2 separate regions of the Homo sapiens genome follow, and region 1 is linked to region 2. Evidence: promoter capture Hi-C in 16 types of primary human blood cells and fetal thymus (Javierre and others, 2016). All regions are on one chromosome and are shown on one strand. The core of a region is centred on a gene start or on the middle of the fragment in contact, and the rest is flanking DNA. Distances in the headings are between cores, read along the strand shown. Region 1 overlaps RFWD3 (ring finger and WD repeat domain 3). Region 2 holds the start of CLEC18B (C-type lectin domain family 18 member B).

Region 1 (4,259 bases), core at 923-3,422, 210 kb before region 2:
ACAAAATTTAATATTTACTTACAATAGTGTTCAAGTTAACAATTTCCAAATAAGAGAATTTAGGGAGTAAATTGATTATTTTATTAATACTAGGTTAATTTTCTCTCAACATGTTTTGTGTTTTTAAGCTTAATTTTAGGTTTTCTAAATGTTGAAAACCAAGTCTTTTCAAATGCTCAATTAAATCATTTCTAAATCTTGCAGATGTTTCTTTCTGCTGTCTTTAGCATAAGATTTCTGCCAACTGCAAGACCCCTTTGCTTTAGCATGGTTATATAATGTTCCTTTATCCCATCTAAGTTTTTAATAAAAAGATTTATCATCAAATAAAACCAACAAATTGGAAAAATAGCTATTTCCTAATGTTCCCCAAATTGGGAATGTGTTCTGTTCTTTTTTTCTTAACGTGTCCATTCCAGTCCGCTTGATAGTGTGCTGGTGTTGATTTGTCCTTGTTCCCCTTAATGATTAACTCGGTGTGTATTTCTGTTACCTTGTTGATTTTTTTTTTTTCTTTTGAGATGGAGTCTCACTCTTTTGCGCAGGCTGGAGTGCAGTGGCCTGATCTCAGCTCACTGCAACCTCTGCCTCCTGGATTCAAGAGATTCTCCTGCCTCAGCCTCCCAAGTAGTTGAGACTACGGGTGCATGCCACCATGCCTAGTTAATTTTTTTTTTTATTTTTTATTTTTTTTATTTTTTTGAGATGGAGTCTCGCTCTTTCGCCTAGGCCGGACTGCAGTGGCGCTGTCTCTATCTCGGCTCACTGCAAGCTCCACCTCTCGGGTTCATGCCATTCTGCCTCAGCCTCCTGAGTAGCTGGGACTACAGGCGCCCGCCACCACACCCAGCTAATTTTTTGTATTTTTAGAAGAGACGGAGTTTCACCGTGTTAGCCAGGATGGTCTCAATCTCCTGACCTCATGATCCGCCCGCCTCGGCCTCCCAAAGTGCTGGGATTACAGGCGTGAGCCACCGCGCCCGGCTATGCCTAGTTAATTTTTGTATTTGAAATGGGGTTTTAACATTTTGGTCAGGCTGGTCTCCAACTCCTGACCTCAGGTGATTCACCCATCTCAGCCTCCGAAAGTACTGGGATTACAGGCATGAGCCACCATGCCTGGCCACCTTGTTGATTTAAAGCCTATACCTGCGCCCCCCTTCCCCCCTTTTTTTTTCCTCTCTGGCTGTCTTAATTCTGCTAGAAGAAAGTACAGTAAGCCACGTGCTTGGTTCCCTGGAGAAGCTGAAGCTATCTTGAATCTAGGATTTGACGTATTTTTAAAGAATTTAACTCAAGTGGGCACAGTGGCTCATGACTGTAATCCCAGCACTTTGGGAGGCCAAGGCGGGAGGATCGTTTGGGCCCAGGAGTATGAGACCAGTCTGGGCAACATAGTGAGACTCCATCGCTATAAAAAAAATTTTTCTTAACTAGCTTGGTGTGGTGGCACACCTCTCTGGTCCCAGCTACTTGGGAGGCTGAGTTGGGAGGATCGCTTGAGCCTAGGAGATCGAGGCTATTGTGAGCCATGATGGTGCCACTGCACCTTAGCATGGGTGACAGAGTGAGGCCTTGTCTCAAAATATATATATATATATATATAAAGTACTTAGTAAAAAATAAATGTTATCATAGCCTAGTAAGAGAACAGAGTAACAAGAAGTTTTAAAAGGTTATTGGTTTTTGTTGGTTATTTTCCCCCCACTTCAGTAATGTGGGTACTTGAAATGTCATCTGTTTCATTTCATTTCAGACAGATGTGACATATCTTGACTGACAAATTATTTATTTTCATTCTCTATTGTTCACTATTCCTTCTGCATCTGGAGTGTCTGTGGTTCTGGTGAAATATTCTGTCTCTCAACAGCTTTATTGAAGTAGAATTGACAGAGAGTAAACTACATATTTAAAGTATACAATTTGATGACTTTTAACATATGTAATACACCCCTGAAACCATGACTACAATCAAGATAACTTTAATTTTTTTTTTTTTTGACAGAAGATCTAGTTCTGTCTTCCAGGCTGGATGCAGGGAGGGGTGTGATCTCCCGGGCTGGAATGCAGGGAGGGGTGTGATCTCAGCTCATTACAACCTCCGCCTCCTGGGCTCAAGTCATCCTTCCACCTCAGCCTCTTGAGTAACTGGGACTACAGGCTCGCCCCACTACGCCCAGCTAATTCTCATATTTTTTGTAGCAACAGGGTTTCACCATATTGCCCAGGCTGGTCTCGAACTCATGATCTCAAGCGAGCCACCCACCTCAGCCTCCCAAAGTGCTGGGATTACAGGCGCGAGCTACCATGCTTGGCCATGAACATATGTATTACCGCAAAAGTTTCCCTATGGCCTTTGATAATCTCACCTGCCCCTCCCTCCTCTCCCATCCCCAGCAGTCACTGCTTTTTGTCACTACAGATGAGTTTGCATTTTCTAGAATTTTACATAAATGGAATTATATAGTGTTACCATTTTTTGGTCTGACTTCTTTCTCGCTGCATAATTTTTTATTGTATATATTAGTAGTTAATTCCTTTTTAACGGGTGGTATTCCATCACATGTTTATACAGTAGGTTTGTTTATCCATTTACCTGGATGTTTGGAGTAGGTTATACTTTTTCTTTTTTTTTTTCTTCTTCTCTTCATTGTCATGAAGCAAGCATGGGTTGTACTTTTTTTTCTTTTCTTTTTTTTTTTTTTCTGAGACGGAGTTTTGCTCTGGTTGCCCACGCTGGAGTGTAGTGGTGCAATCTTGTCTCACTACAACCTCCGCCTCCTGGGTTCAAGCGATTCTCCTGCCTCAGCCTCCTGAATAGCTGGGATTACAGGAACTTGCCACCACGCCTGGCTAATTTTTTGTGTTTTAGTAGAGACAGGGTTTCACTGTGTTGGCCAGGCTTGTCTTGAACTCCTGACCTCAGGTAATCCACCTGTCTCGGCCTCCCAAAGTGCTGGGATTACAGAGGTGAGACACCATGCCTGGCCTGGGTTGTACTTTTTTAAATGAATCATAGGCCAGGTGTGGTGGCTCATGCCTGTAATCCCAGCACTTTGGGAGGCTGAGGCGAGCAGATCACCGGGAGGCAGAAGTTGTAGTGAGCTGAGGTTACGCCACTGCATTCCAGCCTGGCCAACTCTCAAAAATAAATGAATAAATTGTAACACTAGAGAATTTTTGTTTGACCAGCTGGTTCCCAAGGACTTATACGCCAAGAAAGGTGGACGAAGGAGCTACTTGAAAAACTAGTTTGAATTGCCCTAGGTTCACTTTCAGTGATCTATTTCATACTATTTTGCCTTTTTCAGGCTTTGGTGTTAAGATGTTGAGTACTGCCAACATGAAGAGCAGTCAGTACATTCCGATGCATGGCAAACAGATCCGTGGACTGGCGTTTAGCAGTTACCTCAGAGGCTTGCTACTCTCTGCTTCCCTAGACAACACTATTAAACTGACCAGGTGAGTGATTTGGGGAAGTAGGTGGAGACTGGGCTCTTTGGTGTTGAGTAGCATGGAATTCGTATCGGTGTTATGATGACCTTAGCTCTGTTTTTTGTTGTTGTTGTTGTTTTGTTTTGTTTTGTTTTTTTGAGATGGAGTCTCGCTCTGTCACCCAGGCTGGAGTGCACTGGTGGGATCTCGGCTCACTGCAAGCTCCACCTTCCGGGTTCAGGCCATTCTCCTGCCTCAGCCTCCCGAGTAGCTAGGACTACAGGCGCCTGCAACCATGCCTGGCTAATATTTTCTATTTTTGTAGTAGAGACGGGGTTTCACTGTGTTAGCCAGGATGGGCTCAATCTCCTGACCTCATGATCCGCCCGCCTCGGCCTCCTGAAGTGCTGGGATTACAGGCGTGAGCCACTGCGCCCAGCCGACCTTAGCTCTGTTTTTTTTGGTCTGAGACTGTGTCTTCTGAGATCCATTTAAAATATATTGCTTTTAGAAGTGGGCACAGAAGGTTACAAAACTGTATGTTTCCTGTTTCTTTGAAACTATGTATATTACAAAATATGTCTTAAGTATATTTTAAGGAGATGAGAATAAAACTCTAAAGTTGGTGGAGACCAGGCGTGGTGGCTCACGCCTGTAATCCTAGCGCTTTGTGAGGCCGAGGCAGGCAATCAGCTGAGGTCAGGGGTTTGAGACCAGCCTGGCCAACATGGTGAAACCCCGTCTTTAAAGTTTGTGGAATGACAGGATGGAGGAAGCTTTGGTGCCTGACATCAGAGTCGCCATACCAGGTTGGTACTGTTTAC
Region 2 (4,665 bases), core at 655-3,154:
GGCCATGGGACCCTTCAAAAGTTGCTCCACCCTAATCCCCAAAATATCTTTTTCTCCCGCCTGTCCCAAGTGCCTGGCATCATACTATATGGGTCAACTGGCCGTGTTTGCCATGGAAGCCCAATTGTAGGAAGTGGGTCTTTTATCACCCGGCATAGCAGAGCTGTGGAAACTGCACTGGGAAAGATCAGGATGTGAATTAAAGCGTTGGGAATGGGAAGGCAGAGACCTTGGATTAGCTGGGATGCTCCATGCACTCGCTGAGTGACCTTGGACAAGCCCCTTAGACACACTAAGCCCGTTTCCTCATCTACACGACGGGCATCCCATCTGCTACTGCACCAGGTTCTTGTGGCAATAACTTGAACTCACACATGCAAACAGGCTTTGTGAGCTCCATAAACACAGGTGGCTCGGCCAGGTGTGGTGGCTCATGCCTGCAACCCCAGCACTTTGGGAGGCCAAGGTGGGAAGATCCCTTGAGCCCAGGAGTTGGAGACCAGCCTGGGCAAGACGATGAAATCCTGTCTCTACCAAAAAAAATAATAATAATTAGCCAGGCATGGTGGCACACACCTGGTCCCAGCTACTTGGGAGGCTGAGGTGGAAGGATCACTTGGGCCCAAGAGGTCAAGGCTGCAGTGAGCTGAGATTATAACACTCCAACCTGAGTGGCAGAATGAAACTGTCTAAAAAATAAAAATAAAAATACATCAAAAAACAGGTAGCTATTAAGCATTGCTAGGACCCACACGCAGTGACCCTGAGGGTGCTGGGTTTCTGTTTGAGGGAGAAGAAACTCCTGAGCCCCTAGGTATTGTGGGGGACATGCAGTTCCAGACCGCCTTCATGGCCTGTATGCCTGGCCTCATCCCCATCCCTGGCACCCATGACGATAGCCACATTCCACTGGTGTTTCCCCAGGAAAGCCAACCCTACCTGCATCTCAGCAGAGCTTCCACGGAGTTGGAACCCCGCTCCGAGAGGGTGTGGGCTCAGGGGCCAGGGGTCACACAAACTCCAGAAGGAGGACGTAGTTGGTTTGCAAGGCTGTCCTTTGCCCTGGTTGAATAACCTTCGGTCTGCCCCGAGAGGAACGTGGGCATTAGGCTGCAGCCCGCAGGAAGCCATGTATTTTCTGAGAAACTTGGCCCATGGTGCAGATCTGCTCCAGCTCACTCTGGTGGGATCACGCCAGCCACGGCCGGGCCACGGCACATCATGGCAACGTGCTGCCCACCTGCTACGCCGCCTGTTTTTCTAGAGGCGGACGTGATCCCAGCAGGACTGGAGTCAGCCCAGGGCATCACGTGCTCTGGTCCCCGCCTGCTTTGACTCCTCCTGCCTCACTCCCCCCCTGGCCTGTAGTCACGTGGGTGAGGGTGGTGGGCACCGGGGCTGGGCCCAGCCCCCGACCCTGCCCAGACAGACTTTCCTAAGGCACCCTTTTCCTCGTGCAGGTGCGGCCTCAGCCCACCCCCCTTTGAGCCCACAGATTGCACCCCTCTGGTGTGCGGTTACCTCTTGCCTATGTTTAATTCATGGCTGGGGGGTTGGGACGAGCTTCCCAAGAAAGGAAAGAACTCCCCTGGGGTCTTGCCCAGTTCCTGCTCACCAGAAGGACCATAGCCGAGGTCCTCCTCCCAGGGCCCGGGGCTGGGGAGCGGAAGCCATCAGTGGGCTCGGAGGACACTGTCCCAGCCAGGACACGGCCATCGGTCACTAATCTGCAGCACCGGAATGTCCCCAGGCCAATCAGCGGGGTCTCTGGGGGCTCCCCAAGGGTGCTAATAATCCCACAATGATTAGCAGGGGCCGCGGGGCAGTGCACGCCACTCTGCCTGCTGTCGGGGGCGGGCTGGCCAGGCCGAGGCCGGAGCAGGCAGGCATCCCCGGGAGTTGTCTCTTTTCATGCCAGCGCCAACAGGAGGCTGTCTGGACACACTGATTACTCACTCACCAGCCTCCTTCTTTTGTTCACCAGCCCCCCTCTTTTGTCCACCAGCCCAGCCTGACTCCTGGAGATTGTGAATAGCTCCATCCAGCCTGAGAAACAAGCCGGGTGGCTGAGCCAGGCTGTGCACGGAGCGCCTGACGGGCCCAACAGACCCATGCTGCATCCAGAGACCTCCCCTGGCCGGGGGCATCTCCTGGCTGTGCTCCTGGCCCTCCTTGGCACCACCTGGGCAGAGGTGTGGCCACCCCAGCTGCAGGAGCAGGCTCCGATGGCCGGAGGTAAGGGACACCTGGTGAGGAGGTAGGTGGAGGCACCATTATGAGCTCTGAGGAGTGGGTGCTAGGAGACTTCTGGAAGCCCGGTCCCAGGCCTGAGCCCCAGGCCGTGCGGGTGGTTTAATGAGGAAGCCCTGGGACAGCCCGGGGGCGGTGAGGGGTGGATGCTGGACTGGGGAGGAAGGAGGAGGAAGGAGGAGGAAGGAGGACCAGGGCTGGGGTCAAGGAGGAACGCCGAGGAGCGCTGTGGCTGGGGCCTGGAGAAATCCGTGGCCCGGAGGAGCCCCAGACAGGGGCCTGCGGGAGCCAGGGCTGGCCCCTACACCCAGCCCGCACCGCTGTTCCCTCCCGCCACCCCAACCCCAGCACTCAGCCCACGCCTGCTGTACCTGGTCTCTCTCTCAGCCTCGCTCCATTGCTATGCCCCACGTCCCCTGCACCCACCACACTCCTCTCCCATCTTGTTTTCCAAGGGCAGGGACACATGCTTATTCTGCCGTGTGTTGGGTTCAGGTCCCCCCATCCTCGGGCTGCCTGACCTTCTCTCCCCACCCCAGCCCTGAACAGGAAGGAGAGTTTCTTGCTCCTCTCCCTGCACAACCGCCTGCGCAGCTGGGTCCAGCCCCCTGCGGCTGACATGCGGAGGCTGGTGAGTACCCGACCCAGCTGGGCTCTGCCAGGGGGGTGGCCGGAGGCGCGGACCCCAGAGGGCGGCTCAGGAGGCCACGCCTGTCCAGGTGCCCTTCCACTTGACCAGGGTGGGCAGGCACAGCCAGCCACCTTGCCCCTGAGGGACGGAGGCCCTGGTTGCTGGGGGTCTCTGCAGTTTCTTAACCCCCCACCCTCAGTTCAGGAGGTCGGGCCCCTTGGCTCCCACTCGCCTGAAGGGCAGGACCTTGGGCCTTCCCTGGCATCTTGTTGCCACAGAGACCAGGAGCCACAGGAGGAGCCGGATCCCCTCCTCCAGGGAAGGGGAGCTTCACGAGGAGCCCTGCAGGATGGGCGGCCGGGCCAGGGAGGGAGAAGGTCGTGCTGGGCTGGGGAGGGGCTTCTGTGCGGCAAGGACCCAGCGCCTCCTCCTGAGCTTATCTGAGCCACTAGGACGGGCCTTGCCCATGTTCTCTGCTCACTCACTCGTCCACATTTTCCACATTTTCAGCAGGGGCCAGGGGTCGGGGGTATAGAGTTCCCCACCAGCCCGGCTGGGGCTGCGGGGTTGGGACTGTCATCTGGAGGCTCAGAAACGCTGCCCTCCATTGTCTGGGACCCCAGCAGCCCCAGCCCATGTTAGCAGGCCAGGGAGCCAGGGCAGGGTGGTGGGGGCGGGAGGGTTCCCCATGGCTGCTTCCCATGAACTCCTCCAAGGCAGGTGGCCACAGTGGCGACCTTGAACACTCTAGGGTCAGTTTCCCAGGAGGTGGGGGTGGGGTGGCTAAATGCGGGGGGTCGCTTCTCCCCCATTCCCAGCCCTGAGTGGCTCTGCCTCTCCTCAGGCTCAGACCCTGGGCAACCAGGGGTGCTCCCAGCTGTGACCTCCGTGGTTGGGTACTCCTGCCTGGGACCCCAGGAGGGGCTGCGGTGGTCGTTGGCTGGCAGCTGGCACCCTTTCCAGGGCCCTTTTGTCAAAGTCTTAGAAAACTTCATTTCCATAAAGGTGCAAATGGAGCTCCATGGCTCAGCCTCCCTCGTGGCCCGGCCCCGAGCACCCTCCGGGCCTCTAGGGCTCCAGGGCACCCCTTCTTTGGACACAGTGGAGACTGAAGGTCTTGTGGGGGTGGAGGGCTGCTGAGGGACCCCGGGGAGCCCCCAGCTCCTGGCCCCAGCCTTCATCAGAGGTAAAACCCCGATGGACATTAGTGCAGGATGAAGTTGGCTTGGGGTGCAGCCCCGAGGGGCCCCCCTCCCTGCATCCACTCTGTGCTTGTGAGTCCTATCCTGCAGGCACCTCCCTGCTCCGTTTACAGATGAGCTCAGGGAGTCTCGGGAGATCAGGGGACTGCACCAAGTCACCCAGGGGTGGTGATTGCCAGGCCCCTTGTTTAAGAAGAGGGAGGGGGCTGGGCACGGTGGCTCACACCTGTAATCCCAGCACTCTGGGAGGCTGACACAAGCAGATCACCTAAGGTCAGCAGTTTGACACCAGCAATGGCCAACATGGTGAAACCCCGTCTCTACTAAAAATACAAAAATTAGCCAGGTGTGGTGTCACATGGCTGTAATCCCAGCTGCTTGGGAGGCTGAGGCAGGAGAATTGCTTGAACCTGGGAGGCGGAGGTTGCAGTAAGCCGGGATTTCTCCACTGCACTCCAGCCTGGGCGACAGGGTGAGACTCTGTCTCAAAAAAAAAAAAGAAGAGGGAGGGGGCGGGGTCAGCTGTGCGTGGTGGGGAGCATATGAGGCCAGGCTCCTGGGGGCAGGAGACTAGGGCAGAGA

The links. The method cuts DNA at HindIII sites, captures the fragments that hold promoters and counts their contacts. A CHiCAGO score of 5 or more calls a contact.
Region 1: a contact is called between a fragment that was not itself captured here and the fragment with the promoter of CLEC18B in region 2, in 1 of 17 cell types (endothelial precursors). The highest score is 6.6, in endothelial precursors.

Annotation. Positions count from the first base shown.
Region 1 is chr16:74,631,726-74,635,984 of GRCh38, reverse strand. It overlaps RFWD3 (ring finger and WD repeat domain 3), which reads left to right. Exons shown (of 13, transcript NM_018124.4): 9 at 3,312-3,462. Among named protein-coding and RNA genes, the nearest start is that of GLG1, 27 kb to the right of the region's middle. The HindIII fragment of the contact is 4,083 bases long and covers 131-4,213 here.
Region 2 is chr16:74,418,717-74,423,381 of GRCh38, reverse strand. CLEC18B (C-type lectin domain family 18 member B) reads left to right here and starts at 1,904. Exons shown (of 12, transcript NM_001385193.1): 1 at 1,904-2,235; 2 at 2,790-2,881. The coding sequence starts at 2,112. LOC107984827 (a long non-coding RNA gene) reads right to left here and starts at 1,262. Exons shown (of 3, transcript XR_001752253.3): 1 at 940-1,262. The HindIII fragment of the contact is 28,054 bases long and covers 1-4,665 here.